Regions from separate parts of the Homo sapiens genome. Here regions 1, 2 and 3 are each linked to region 4. Evidence: promoter capture Hi-C in human tissues and cell types (Jung and others, 2019). All regions are on one chromosome and are shown on one strand. Each heading gives the region's core, a stretch centred on a gene start or on the middle of the fragment in contact. The rest is flanking DNA. Distances are from core to core; before and after follow the strand shown.

The links. The method cuts DNA at HindIII sites, captures the fragments that hold promoters and counts their contacts. A contact is called where the count stands out against the background at its distance.
Region 1: a contact is called between a fragment that was not itself captured here and the fragment with the promoter of UBE2C in region 4, in 1 of the 25 tissues and cell types used here (heart left ventricle).
Region 2: the fragment with the promoter of WFDC6 here is called in contact with the fragment with the promoter of UBE2C in region 4 in 3 of the 25 tissues and cell types used here (H1 embryonic stem cells, adrenal gland and mesendoderm cells).
Region 3: a contact is called between a fragment that was not itself captured here and the fragment with the promoter of UBE2C in region 4, in 2 of the 25 tissues and cell types used here (mesendoderm cells and thymus).

The regions. Positions count from the first base shown.
Region 1 is chr20:45,427,369-45,430,068 of GRCh38, forward strand. LOC105372631 (a long non-coding RNA gene) reads left to right here and starts at 54. Exons shown (of 4, transcript NR_159957.1): 1 at 54-177; 2 at 2,077-2,302. The HindIII fragment of the contact is 8,003 bases long and covers 1-2,700 here.
Region 2 is chr20:45,538,039-45,540,738 of GRCh38, forward strand. It overlaps WFDC6 (WAP four-disulfide core domain 6), which reads right to left and starts at 1,444. Exons shown (of 3, transcript NM_080827.2): 1 at 1,279-1,444; 2 at 1-56. The coding sequence starts at 1,369. EPPIN-WFDC6 (EPPIN-WFDC6 readthrough) reads right to left here. Exons shown (of 5, transcript NM_001198986.2): 4 at 1-56. EPPIN (epididymal peptidase inhibitor) reads right to left here. Exons shown (of 4, transcript NM_020398.4): 4 at 2,588-2,700. It overlaps LOC107987282 (a long non-coding RNA gene), which reads left to right. Exons shown (of 4, transcript XR_001754641.3): 3 at 498-641; 4 at 2,037-2,349. It also overlaps the pseudogene HSPD1P21. The HindIII fragment of the contact is 28,992 bases long and covers 1-2,700 here.
Region 3 is chr20:45,454,707-45,457,406 of GRCh38, forward strand. No RefSeq gene overlaps it. Among named protein-coding and RNA genes, the nearest start is that of WFDC2, 14 kb to the right of the region's middle. The HindIII fragment of the contact is 4,216 bases long and covers 1-2,700 here.
Region 4 is chr20:45,811,260-45,813,959 of GRCh38, forward strand. It overlaps UBE2C (ubiquitin conjugating enzyme E2 C), which reads left to right and starts at 1,385. Exons shown (of 6, transcript NM_007019.4): 1 at 1,385-1,537; 2 at 2,178-2,205. The coding sequence starts at 1,437. It overlaps DNTTIP1 (deoxynucleotidyltransferase terminal interacting protein 1), which reads left to right. Exons shown (of 13, transcript NM_052951.3): 13 at 1-159. RefSeq lists a silencer at 1,188-1,377. The HindIII fragment of the contact is 8,392 bases long and covers 1-2,700 here.

The DNA.
Region 1 (2,700 bases), core at 108-2,607, 380 kb before region 4:
TGCCTCCGGGAAGTTTCCCTTGACGTGTCCGTGCCCCACGCCTTTGCTTCCAGATTGCCTTGGACTTAACACGTGTTCCTTATCAGCTGGCTGCTGTCCTTTGACTTCCACCAGATGGTGTGCTTCCTGGAGGCACAGGTTCTGTCTTTCATTAAGACCTGACCCATCTCAGGACATGTAAGTGCTCAATCAGCAAACGCTAAATGTATTAACTGGGTATGGGCTATTCTGGCTTGAGATCTGGGATCCAAGATAGGGATGGGCAAGGGGCACTCTGGAAGCTCCACATGTGTGAGTGCAGCAGTCTTAACACAGTGGTACAGGTGTCTCTGTAGCCAGCATAGATGGGCTGTGTAGGTTCCTTGAAGGGTTTTAGGAGCCCTCAGCACATGCGGGTGGTATGTGTGCATATGTAGGAAGGAAAGGCGGTGAGCTAGTCTAGACCATGGGCAAAGGCAATTTGTTCAAGGTGCTTTTACTTGAGTTTACTTCAAAAGCAGTAAAGGAGCAGACTGTAAATGAGACAGGAACGCAGGTGAGTGGATACACAAAGCTAAGTGGTCTGTGTAGTGTGCCTAGTGTGGGATGGAGCATGCATAGCATGGGGTGTCTGCCAAGTCAGAAGAGCACAGAGCTGTGGCCTGGCTCTCTTTTATACCCGCAGCCCTGTCAGTACCTAGAAACGACCTCCACTACCATGCCACATGTAACCTACGCTCTGGCAACACCCACATATTTCTAGATCAGACCTCCTCCCTGGATCTTGGATTCATTTACCCAACTGCCTACTTGCTTTCTCCATTTGGATGTCTAAAGACATCTCAAATTGAATATCTCCAAAACCGAGCTTCTGATGTGCTCCACCCCACCCCAAACAGGCCCAACCATAGTCACCTCATCTCTGTAAAAGGTAATTCGTGTCTTTCCAGGCACTCAGGCCAAATACCTTTGAGTCATCCTTGTCTCTCTCTCATCCTGTTTGCACCCTACCTTCAAAATAAATCCAGAATCCCACCCCTTTTCACCACCTCCACTATTATCAGTGAGGTTTTCCCTGGCCATACCCTATTTCAAATTGCTATCCTAGCACGCTACATTCACCTGGGGAACTGAAAAAATCCTGATGCCCAGGCTTTACCCAAACCAGTTAAATCAGAATTTAATGTGGGACTCACAGAGTCTCCAAGTGACACCAATGTGTAGCCAAGCTTAAGAACTTGGTCTTATTTTTAAAGTAGTATGAAAACTTACTGTCTCTCCTAAGCATTCTAACAATGGATACTTTTCAGAATAAGATTGTGTAAAACAGAGAACTCACTTTTAACTTTATAACAATTTATGTATTGTTTGTCTTTTTAAAACAAAAGTATATGTTGAGTTTATAATAAAAGTAAAAATTTGGGCCGGGCGTCGTGGCTCACACCACTCCCAGCACTTTGGGAAGCCGAGGTGGGTGGATCATTTGAGGTCAGGAGTTCGAGACCAGCCTAGCCAACATGGTGAAACCCCGCTTCTACTAAAAATACAAAAATTAGCCAGGCGTGGTGGCGGGTGCCTATAGTCCCAGCTACTCGGGAGGCTGAGGCAGGAGAATCACTTGAACCCAGGAAGTGGAGGTTGCAGTGAGCCGAGATCAGGCCACTGCACTCCAGCCTGGGCGACAGAGTGAGACTCCATCTTGAATAATAATAATAATAAAATAATAATTTGATGAAGACTTAATTAAATCAAATAGGCATCTGGGAGGTCTGGCCCCAGGTCTTCCCCCAGACTGAAGGGTGACCACAGGTGAGCCCTTTCAATATCTGGGCCTTGGACTCCCGCTGAGGTGAAAGTGACCGGGTAGCCTGTTGGAGCCAGCCCTGTCCCATAGGCTATGGGTCTCAGGGTCCTCTTTCCCAATAGCACTTCAGCTCACTTGAGGTCTTTTCTGAGCTGGTCATGCCCACCAGGCAGATGGCAAGGCAGGGCACAGAAGCTGCTGAGCTCCATGGTGCCAAGGGCTGAGCTCCATGAGCCAGGGCTGGGAGGCTGGAACTTATACCTGCAGAAAAAGAAGAGTCCCTGTTTCCACAGGACAAAGGAAATATCTTGTTTTTGATTTCTTGGAAGAGGAAGCACTCTGGGCAAGAGGTATGAGCCGGGATGAAGTGGACTCCTTGTCTGGAGGTGGTGCTACACACCTTGGAGGGGCTCCTGGGAGCTACTGAGAATGTCCCCTAAGTCAGTATTCCTGCCTCAGCTGAAATGCCAGTCTTCAGCCTCATCTACTGCACACTTGAGTCCATGAGATTTTAGAGTGGTAAGTGACCTTTGGGGTCTCAGTTTTCCTATCTGTAAAGGGAGTGGGCTGGACAATGAACAGCTGTTCTCCATTCTTTTGTTATTGGTTCCCATCCAGAGCCTCCCAGCTAGTTGTCTCAACATCCCAGGGGAGAAAGCATAGCTCTTTGTCCATTGGTTTATTTATTCAATTTAGGAATAATGAGTGTATTGTTTTATATGAATAACCATACTTATTTAAAAGATCAAACTAAACTAAATAGTACAAACAAGCGAAATCTCTCCCCAAAGTCTACTATGGTGCTGTGCAACAGAAATATAATACAAGCCACAAATCGAATTTTCAATTTCCTAGTAGCTTTTTTAAAAAGTAAAAAGAGGGGCCAGGCACAGTGGCTCAGCCTGTAATCCCAGCAC
Region 2 (2,700 bases), core at 194-2,693, 270 kb before region 4:
GGTACACTGGTCTATTTCTTCCACTTCGCATTCCACTTTGATTTTGGGACACGGCTCTAAGGGAGGGGAAGATATATTCCCTCAAGGCCTTAAAGGAGCCAGTGCTCCCCCTCCCCGAGACCAGGGCACCCCTCCAGAGTTAGAGAACTTTGTTTCCACTTCACCTATCCCCAGAAGGTAGTGGCCCTCAGGGGGCTCAGGAATTTCACAACACTGCTCACATCCCCAACCCCATAACAACTCACCATCGGATGCCTAAACCAACCCCTACCCCCTACCCGCACCATCTATGAGATTCCTGAGAGAAAGACGCATTCCTCTAAGACTGTTCTGGTCACTCAGCCTTGCTGTGCTTGGTTGCTCCCCCAGGAGGTGCTGTGGCTCTCGATGATTGAGATTAACATTTCTGGCATCAGATAGCTGGGCTTTTGAATTCTGTGAGACGCTTGGTGTGCCAGGCACTCTCTCTGAGCCTTGATTTCCTCATTTGCCCATAGGGTTGCTTTGAAGACTAACCAGCAACACAGTTTGACAAGCCATCGTCAAACTGCCTGGGGCAATGTAACGTAACAATGAGTAATATGGATGAAGCACTTACTGTGAGCTGCCTTTTCTCCTTAATCCTCATTACAAATCTATGGGTAAGTACTCTTAATATTCACATTTTGTAAACAGAAGAATTGGAAGCATAAGGAGATTATGTGAATTTGCCCAAGATCACACAGCTACTCAGGGGTGGAGCCAGGTTTGAACCTACAATGTGTGGCTCCTGAGTGCTCACTTTCAACCACTAATTTTCAGTGCCCAGTACAGTTAGCTGCTAATTGTGAGTCTTCACATTTCAGCATTCCAAGGGACTTCTGGAGACCATTCTTTAACCCAAAGACCAGGGTCCTCTGTGGGTATGGGTGTGGGGGCTGCAATGAGAACATTTGGAAGTTGACACAGGTGGTGTTGTGGGGAGCAGCCTGTTTTTCTTGTGGGAGACTTCCTTGGGCTTACTACTCCTTCTTAGTTCATTTCATGAGCTCTAGGTCCAGGCACCTCCAGGAAGAACTCTTTGGAATGGCAGCAAGGAGTCACTTGCCACAGATTTGGATGCCTGTATTCACCAAGGGAGTCTCTTACCAAGAGACTTCAAATAGCTCCCCTCTTTCCCACCTGGAATTCCAGGCAGAGGTGGAGAAAATAATTTCTCAGCTGCAAAATTATTCTTTGTTCCTTCCTCCCCACTGAGTTTCCTTTCCCCATTGCAAGGACGGAGTTCCCAATACTTACTGCCAAGGATGCCTTCAGCGTGCCCAGGTTCCTGGATGTCCCCCAAAAGGATGAATGGTACCAGGATTGGCAGAAGTCCTGAGAGTCCCATTTTAGGAAGTACTGGCCTGGTTGATGGCACCAAAACTAAGAACTGCTCCTCAGCAGCTCCTACATCTGCACTTTGCCTGCCCCGGTGTGGCCCAGCACCTTAAGAGACAGCCCTGGAGACAAGCCAGCCAGACTCCCCGATCAGGAACACCAGATCCCTGAGGCCATCAGTGGGACTACCTGGTACCTACACTGGGGGATAGGTGGCTCCTAATCCTCAGCAATCTGAGGCTTTCTGGTCTACCAGGGAAAGAGGGCACATGTTGTCTTGGGCTTTCCAGGCTCCCTTAGCAGAAGGGGAGGTTTAACTCCAGAGTCTTCCATTTCCCAGGGGGAGTTTGCAGGTTAACAGTATGCTAGCTCTCTTCCTTCTTTCTAATTTCACTCTTCTCCTGACATGTCTATTCTTATGTTTTATTTTTCTCACTCTGTTTCTTCTCTTTTCTGTGCATCTGTATGTCTTTTACTCTGTGCCTGTCTTTTTCTCAGGGAGTCTCTGTCTGTCTGAGTCTCTTTCTCCCCGCCCTTCACTTCCCTCTCTCTTCTTTCGTATGTAAAGATCAGTTACATTTATCCTTTAAGTCGTTTGATTTTGCAACAGTAAATAACTTCTTTCATTACTTTGGGACTTCTCCAACTCTGTTCTCCGTTTTTCCCTGTTGTCACAGCTACAGCATTGGATTAAAAGTCACACCCTGAAGCATTAACGCTTGAGCATCTGTACCAAGTTTTATATCCTTGGTATAAGCCCGAAGGAGGTGAGGAGCCAGTTACCTGGGCATCAGTTCCATCTGGCAAAGGACTGTGGGTAATGGAAGCATTTCTGCAGGGTGGCAGCAGGGTGTGTGTGCAGCAAGGCATGTCATCAGTGGTGAGTGAGAAGTTCATTCCTTTTTATGGCCGAATAATAGCCAATGCACATTGACAGCCTCCTACCTCTAGCATCAGTCCCTAATTTTCTGCTGTGGGTTTTCTCTGGCCCCCAGGGAGCTTGTATAGCTTGCAAGTATAACAGTTTGAAAGAGCGAGGGATTTAGTATCCCTGGCATCCAGTGGGCGTTGGGAATCAGTGGACAAATAGCTTAGCTTTCCCATCACTGGAGACAGATTAAGAAAATTTGTGGTCTGATATCCAGAATCTACAAGGAACTTAAACAAATTTACAAGAAAAAAAACAAACAACCCCATTGAAAAGTGGGCAAAGGACATGAACAGACACTTCTCAAAAGAAGACATTTATGCGGCCAACAAACATATGAAAAAAAGCTCAACACCAGTGATCATCAGAGAAATGCAAATCAAAACCACAATGAGATACCATCTCATGCCAGT
Region 3 (2,700 bases), core at 43-2,542, 360 kb before region 4:
GATCTCAACTCACTGTCACCTCCACCTCCTGGGTTCAAGCGATTCTCATGCCTTAGTCTCCTGAGTAGCTGGGATTATAGGTGCATGCCACTGAGCCTGGCTAATTTTTGTATTTTTAGTAGAGACAGGGTTTTACCATGTTGGCCAGGCTGATCTTGACCTCCTGACCTCAGGTTCAGGTGATCTGCCTGCTTTGGGCTCCCAAAGTGCTGGGATTACAGGCGTGAGTCAGCCTCTGCTTTTTTTCTCATGTTGATCTCACAGAATCATAGTGATAATTAAATGCTATGATATTTGTGAAATTCCTTGTACAAGTACCTGGCAGAATAACTTCTCGATAAATAATGCTTGGATGATAAAAGTAATAGTAATAATATTCATTAGTAATAATAATCAATAAGTTTATAATGGAAAAGAGCTTGGTACTTATTTATTTTTTATTTTATTTTATTTTATTTTTTTTGAGACGGAGTCTCGCTCTGTCGCCCAGGCTGGAATGCAGTGGCCAGATCTCAGCTCACTGCAAGCTCCGCCTCCCGGGTTCACGCCATTCTCCTGCCTCAGCCTCCCTAGTAGCTGGGACTATAGGCGCCCGCCACCACGCCCGGATAATTTTTTGTATTTTTAGTAGAGACAGGGTTTCACCATGTTAGCCAGGATGGTCTCGATCTCCTGACCTTGTGATCCGCCTGCCTCGGCCTCCCAAAGTGCTGGGATTACAGGCGCGAGCCAAGGAGCTTGGTACTAATTAGAGGGGTTCGGCTTTAGTAGCTATTACCATGTGACTGTTTAGTAGATATTACTGTGTGACCATAAGCAAGTCACTTCACTTTTCTGAGCCAGTTTCCTTCTCCGTAAAATAGGGGAAAAAGCTTGATGCGGTGGCTCATGCCTGTAATCCCAGCACTTTGGGAGGCCAAGGCGGGTGGATCCCTTGAGGCCAGGAGTTCCAGACCAGCGTGACCAACATAGCAAAACCCCATCTCTGCGGGATATCTAGGCAAAGATGTTGAGTAGACACTGATTTATCCATGCACTCGTTCAGCACACGTTTCTTAGAAAGGGTATTCGGTGATTGAAAGTGCAGACCAGACTCCATGGATTCAAATCTGACTCTGCCAATTTACTGGTTGTGTGCGCAAGTCACTTCACTTCTCTGTCATTATTGATGCATCTGTAAAATGGGGTTGGTAATAACAGCTCCTGCCTCTTTGGTTGTTACTGAGGGAGGGGAGGTTAATACACGTATAGACTTTGGAATAGTGCCTGCACTCAGGAAGGACTCAATAGCCATGCTATGATTGAGTGCCGACTGTATGTGCTGGGCACTGTTCTAGGTGCTGGGTCACAAGAGTGAAGGCAGCACACAAGCTCCCCACCCTCCTGGAGCTGACATTTCAGCTGGAGAGAATAATAATTGAGTGAGATAAGTTTCAGGTGGTGATAACTGCTATGAAGAAAAGAACTCAGGGAGGGAGGGATAGCCCTGGGAAAAATACCTAATGTAAATGACGGGTTGATGGGTGTAGTGGGCCAGCAGGGCACATGTATAGCTACGTAATGAGCCTGCACGTTGTGCACACGTACCTTAGAACTTAAAGTATAATAATAAAAAAAAAAAAGAAAATAACTCAGAATACAAGGTGAAGAGGGGCCAGTTTAGGCAGGATGGTTCTGAGTGGAGTGAAGGAAGGAGCCGTGTAGGCCTCTGGTGGATGCAGAAGAAAGAATGAATGCAAAAGTCCTAAGGCAGGAACAAACTCTTCCTGCATGGCAGAAAAAGATAGGCAGGGGCTTGATCACAGCCATGACAAGGTATTTAGATTGTAATTCCATGTACAGTGGAAACCACAGAAGGGCTTGGAACACGAAAGTAACGTGATCTGATTTAATTTTTAAAAGGTCACCAGCTGCCATGAAGAGAACATAACACACCAACAATGGAGAGAGGTCTGGAATGGATAGAGATCTGAGGTTTTTCACCCAGTTGGAAAATGGTACAGCAGGAGTGGCTGACATGGCCCAGGGGTTGTATATAGAATCACAATGATAGGAAAAGGGCAGTTCTGCTCTTGCCTTACCGCGTGATCCTGGAGAGTGTCACCTGTCCCTCAGGTTCTCGTTTACAACAGAAGGTGGCGCCACGTGTGATAATTCAAGCATCCCTTTTAACACTCATGTAATCATGTAATGCAGCCAATAAACACTGCCACAAGGATCTGTTTTACAGTTATGCTCCTTAGAAGCATTTATGAAGCATTTCACACGAATTCTTCTAGTACTTGCTGGGAATGTCCCTGCAGGTCCTGTGCTATGCTGCCTGAACTTGGGATGCCAATTCAGCCACTGTTTTCTCCTCTGTAAGGTGGGGATGACAAAATCTGCTCTGCCCACTTCTCAGGAATGCATGAAGTATGACATTAGAGAAAGCCTGGCGAAGAAGTTTTTGTTTTTTGAGAGGGCAGCATGGAGAAGGGGTTTCTTTCTTTTCTTTTCTTTTCTTTTTTTTAGTTACTTTACATCATGGACTTTTTTTTTTTTTTTTTTTTTTTTTGAGTCAAGAGTCTCGTTCCATCACTCAGGCTGGAGCGCAGTAGCATGATCATAGTTCACTGCAGCCTCGACCTTCTGGGCTCAAGCATCCTCCCACCTCAGCCTCCTGAGTAGCTGAAACTACTGGCACATACTACCATGCCTGGC
Region 4 (2,700 bases), core at 135-2,634:
CCACCGCTGGGACTGCTCCTAGATGGATCTCAGCGGCATTAAGCTGTGCCTGAGCGAGTTTGTAGTGACTCACTGCACAGCACCCCCAGACTAGCATGTGGTTCTATATTTGTAAAGTTATTGGGATAAGAAACAATTAAACAGTTTGTAGTAAACACAGATGGTGAACCTGCTGTGCCCTCTACCTTGTGGGAATTGACAGAACATCAAGGGCTCTAGAAGTGGGTGTAGGAAAAAAGGACGAGATAACCCTCACCCATAACAGTATAGAGCCAGGCTTGATAAGACCAACCTGGGAGCACCATGTACCCTGCCCGTCTTCCCTTTGCCCATTTGTAGTTTCCTTACCCAGCTAATGTAAGGACATGGCAGAATGCGATGGAGTTTGATGACAGATCATATGAAAAATAGAGTTGGCTTTTATTGCTCCCATTTTACAGGTTAAGATACTAAAGGACCCGCCCCAAGGTTACACACTACCCACTGGGGAGGTAGGATATACAGGATATGAACCTGTGTTGTTGGGGTTTTTGTTTGTTTGAAGACAGTCTTGCTCTGTTGCCCAGGCTAGAGTGCAGCCTCTGGCTCAAGCGATTCTCCCGCCTCAGCCTCGCCAGTAGCTGGGACTACAGGCTCGTGCCACCTCACCAGCCTTTTTTTTTTTTCTTTTCTTTTTTTTTTTTTTTCTTTTAAGTAGAGACAGGTCTCCCTATCCTGTTGCTCAGGCTGGTCTCGAACTCCTGGGTTCAAGTGATCCTCCTGCCTGGGCCTTCCAAAGTGTTCGGGATTACGGACGTGAGCCACTGCGACCAGCCTGAACCAATGTTGCCTTTTTTTATTTCTGTCATCTCTGCGGAGATGTATGGACCTATGTTTTCTAATAGGGAGCCTGCTGCTCTGGCCATCAGCCTTTAGTTTTTCCCCTCGCTGGGATTTTCAGATACTTAGGACGCAGCAAAGGTGCCCAGGCGATTATAATGGTGGGAGGGTACCAGTGCTGCAGGATTGGAGGCACTCCCTGCCCGAGGGAAATTGGATCAAGGCTGGGCGTGCCGAGTGTTCCCACGCGGAGTAAGACGTGTAGCCAGAAGGAGGGGTTCATCCCACGTGGACGTTTTCTTGGCCCTTTAATGGTTAGCGTTTTCCAACGGCCACCAATTCGCTACGGATTCGTTAGTTAATGGCAGCATCATCTACCAATCGGTTGTCAGAAGCGGGATTCTGCCGCCCAATAGCGGTGCGCCAGTGGGTAGGTCTAGCAGTGGCGCAGCAATAGAGCGCTCCGGAGCGTCTCATTGGCTGGATCAAACCCAAGCGAGCCATTGATTGGTCGACGCCCCCAGAGGGTTACAATTCAAACGCGGGCGGGCGGGCCCGCAGTCCTGCAGTTGCAGTCGTGTTCTCCGAGTTCCTGTCTCTCTGCCAACGCCGCCCGGATGGCTTCCCAAAACCGCGACCCAGCCGCCACTAGCGTCGCCGCCGCCCGTAAAGGAGCTGAGCCGAGCGGGGGCGCCGCCCGGGGTCCGGTGGGCAAAAGGTGAGTGATGCGGCCTACCACTCGCCGGGCCTGCCATGCCCTAGGCATTGGTACCCAGAGCAAAGATTTCTAGGACCACCCCCCGCCGCCACCTCCTGGAGCGGGAGATCTGCGGGTGCAGGAGAACACACCAGGAGCTCGGGGCCTGGCATTCCCCTGGGCATGGGTGTCGAGGGCGGAGACTTCCGGGACTCCCACCTCCTTGCGCGGGTGAGATTCGAGAGATGGGGGACAGGCCAGGAGCTCAGACCGCTCTTTGAGACTCTCCCGAAGGAGAATGGGAGGGTAGGGGCGCTGCCAGACTCCTTCCCTGGTGGGCCTAGATGAAGACGCTCAAGGACCCTCGTGACTTGGCCGAGACAGGGGAAGGGAGAAGTTGAGTCGGGCAAGGAAGAGATGCTAAAGCCTGGGGAATTAAGAACATGCCAGAATCATCCCGAGGGAGTCTGGAATTAGGGAGGGTGAGGACTCGCTAGGATCGTCCTGTGGATCTGGTGAGTATACCCTGAGCTGAGCCTGACCTTGGTGATGTGGGGAGCCTCCATGACGGCTCCCCCTGAGATTCAGGTGGGAGAAGATGCACCGTCTGGAGGCCTGGCCCATCCAGACTCCCAGGTAACCCCGAATACTCTTTTTTCAGGCTACAGCAGGAGCTGATGACCCTCATGGTGAGTGATTAAGTGCCCAGAACCCCAGCCTTCCATCCAATTTTCAGTAGCCTCCTTTTTTCCGTCAGCTTTTTTGCTAGACATAGGGGTAATGTAATTTGCTCCCTCCTGGGAAAGAAGTTCATACACCCCACCTACACCATTTCTTCCAGCAGTCCCTCCTCCCAATTCCATCCCCCCACACGAAGTTATCTCGAACACTTCCCTGAAGTCATACAAGACCCTCCCTATCCAGTGTGTCCCTACTTCCTAGCCCCAACCAAGCTTTACCCACACCCAACTCCCCGCCCTTCTTGGTATTTCTAGCCTATGAATTTGGTTGCTTTATTTTGGATCAGAGTGATGAGATTAAGGGGAGGCTGGGCGCGGTAGCTCACACCTTATAATCCCAACACTTTGGGGGGCTAAGGTGGGCGGATCACTTGAGGTCAGGAGTTCGAGACCAGCCTGGCCAACATTGCAAAACCCTGTCTCTACTAAAAATACAAAAATTAT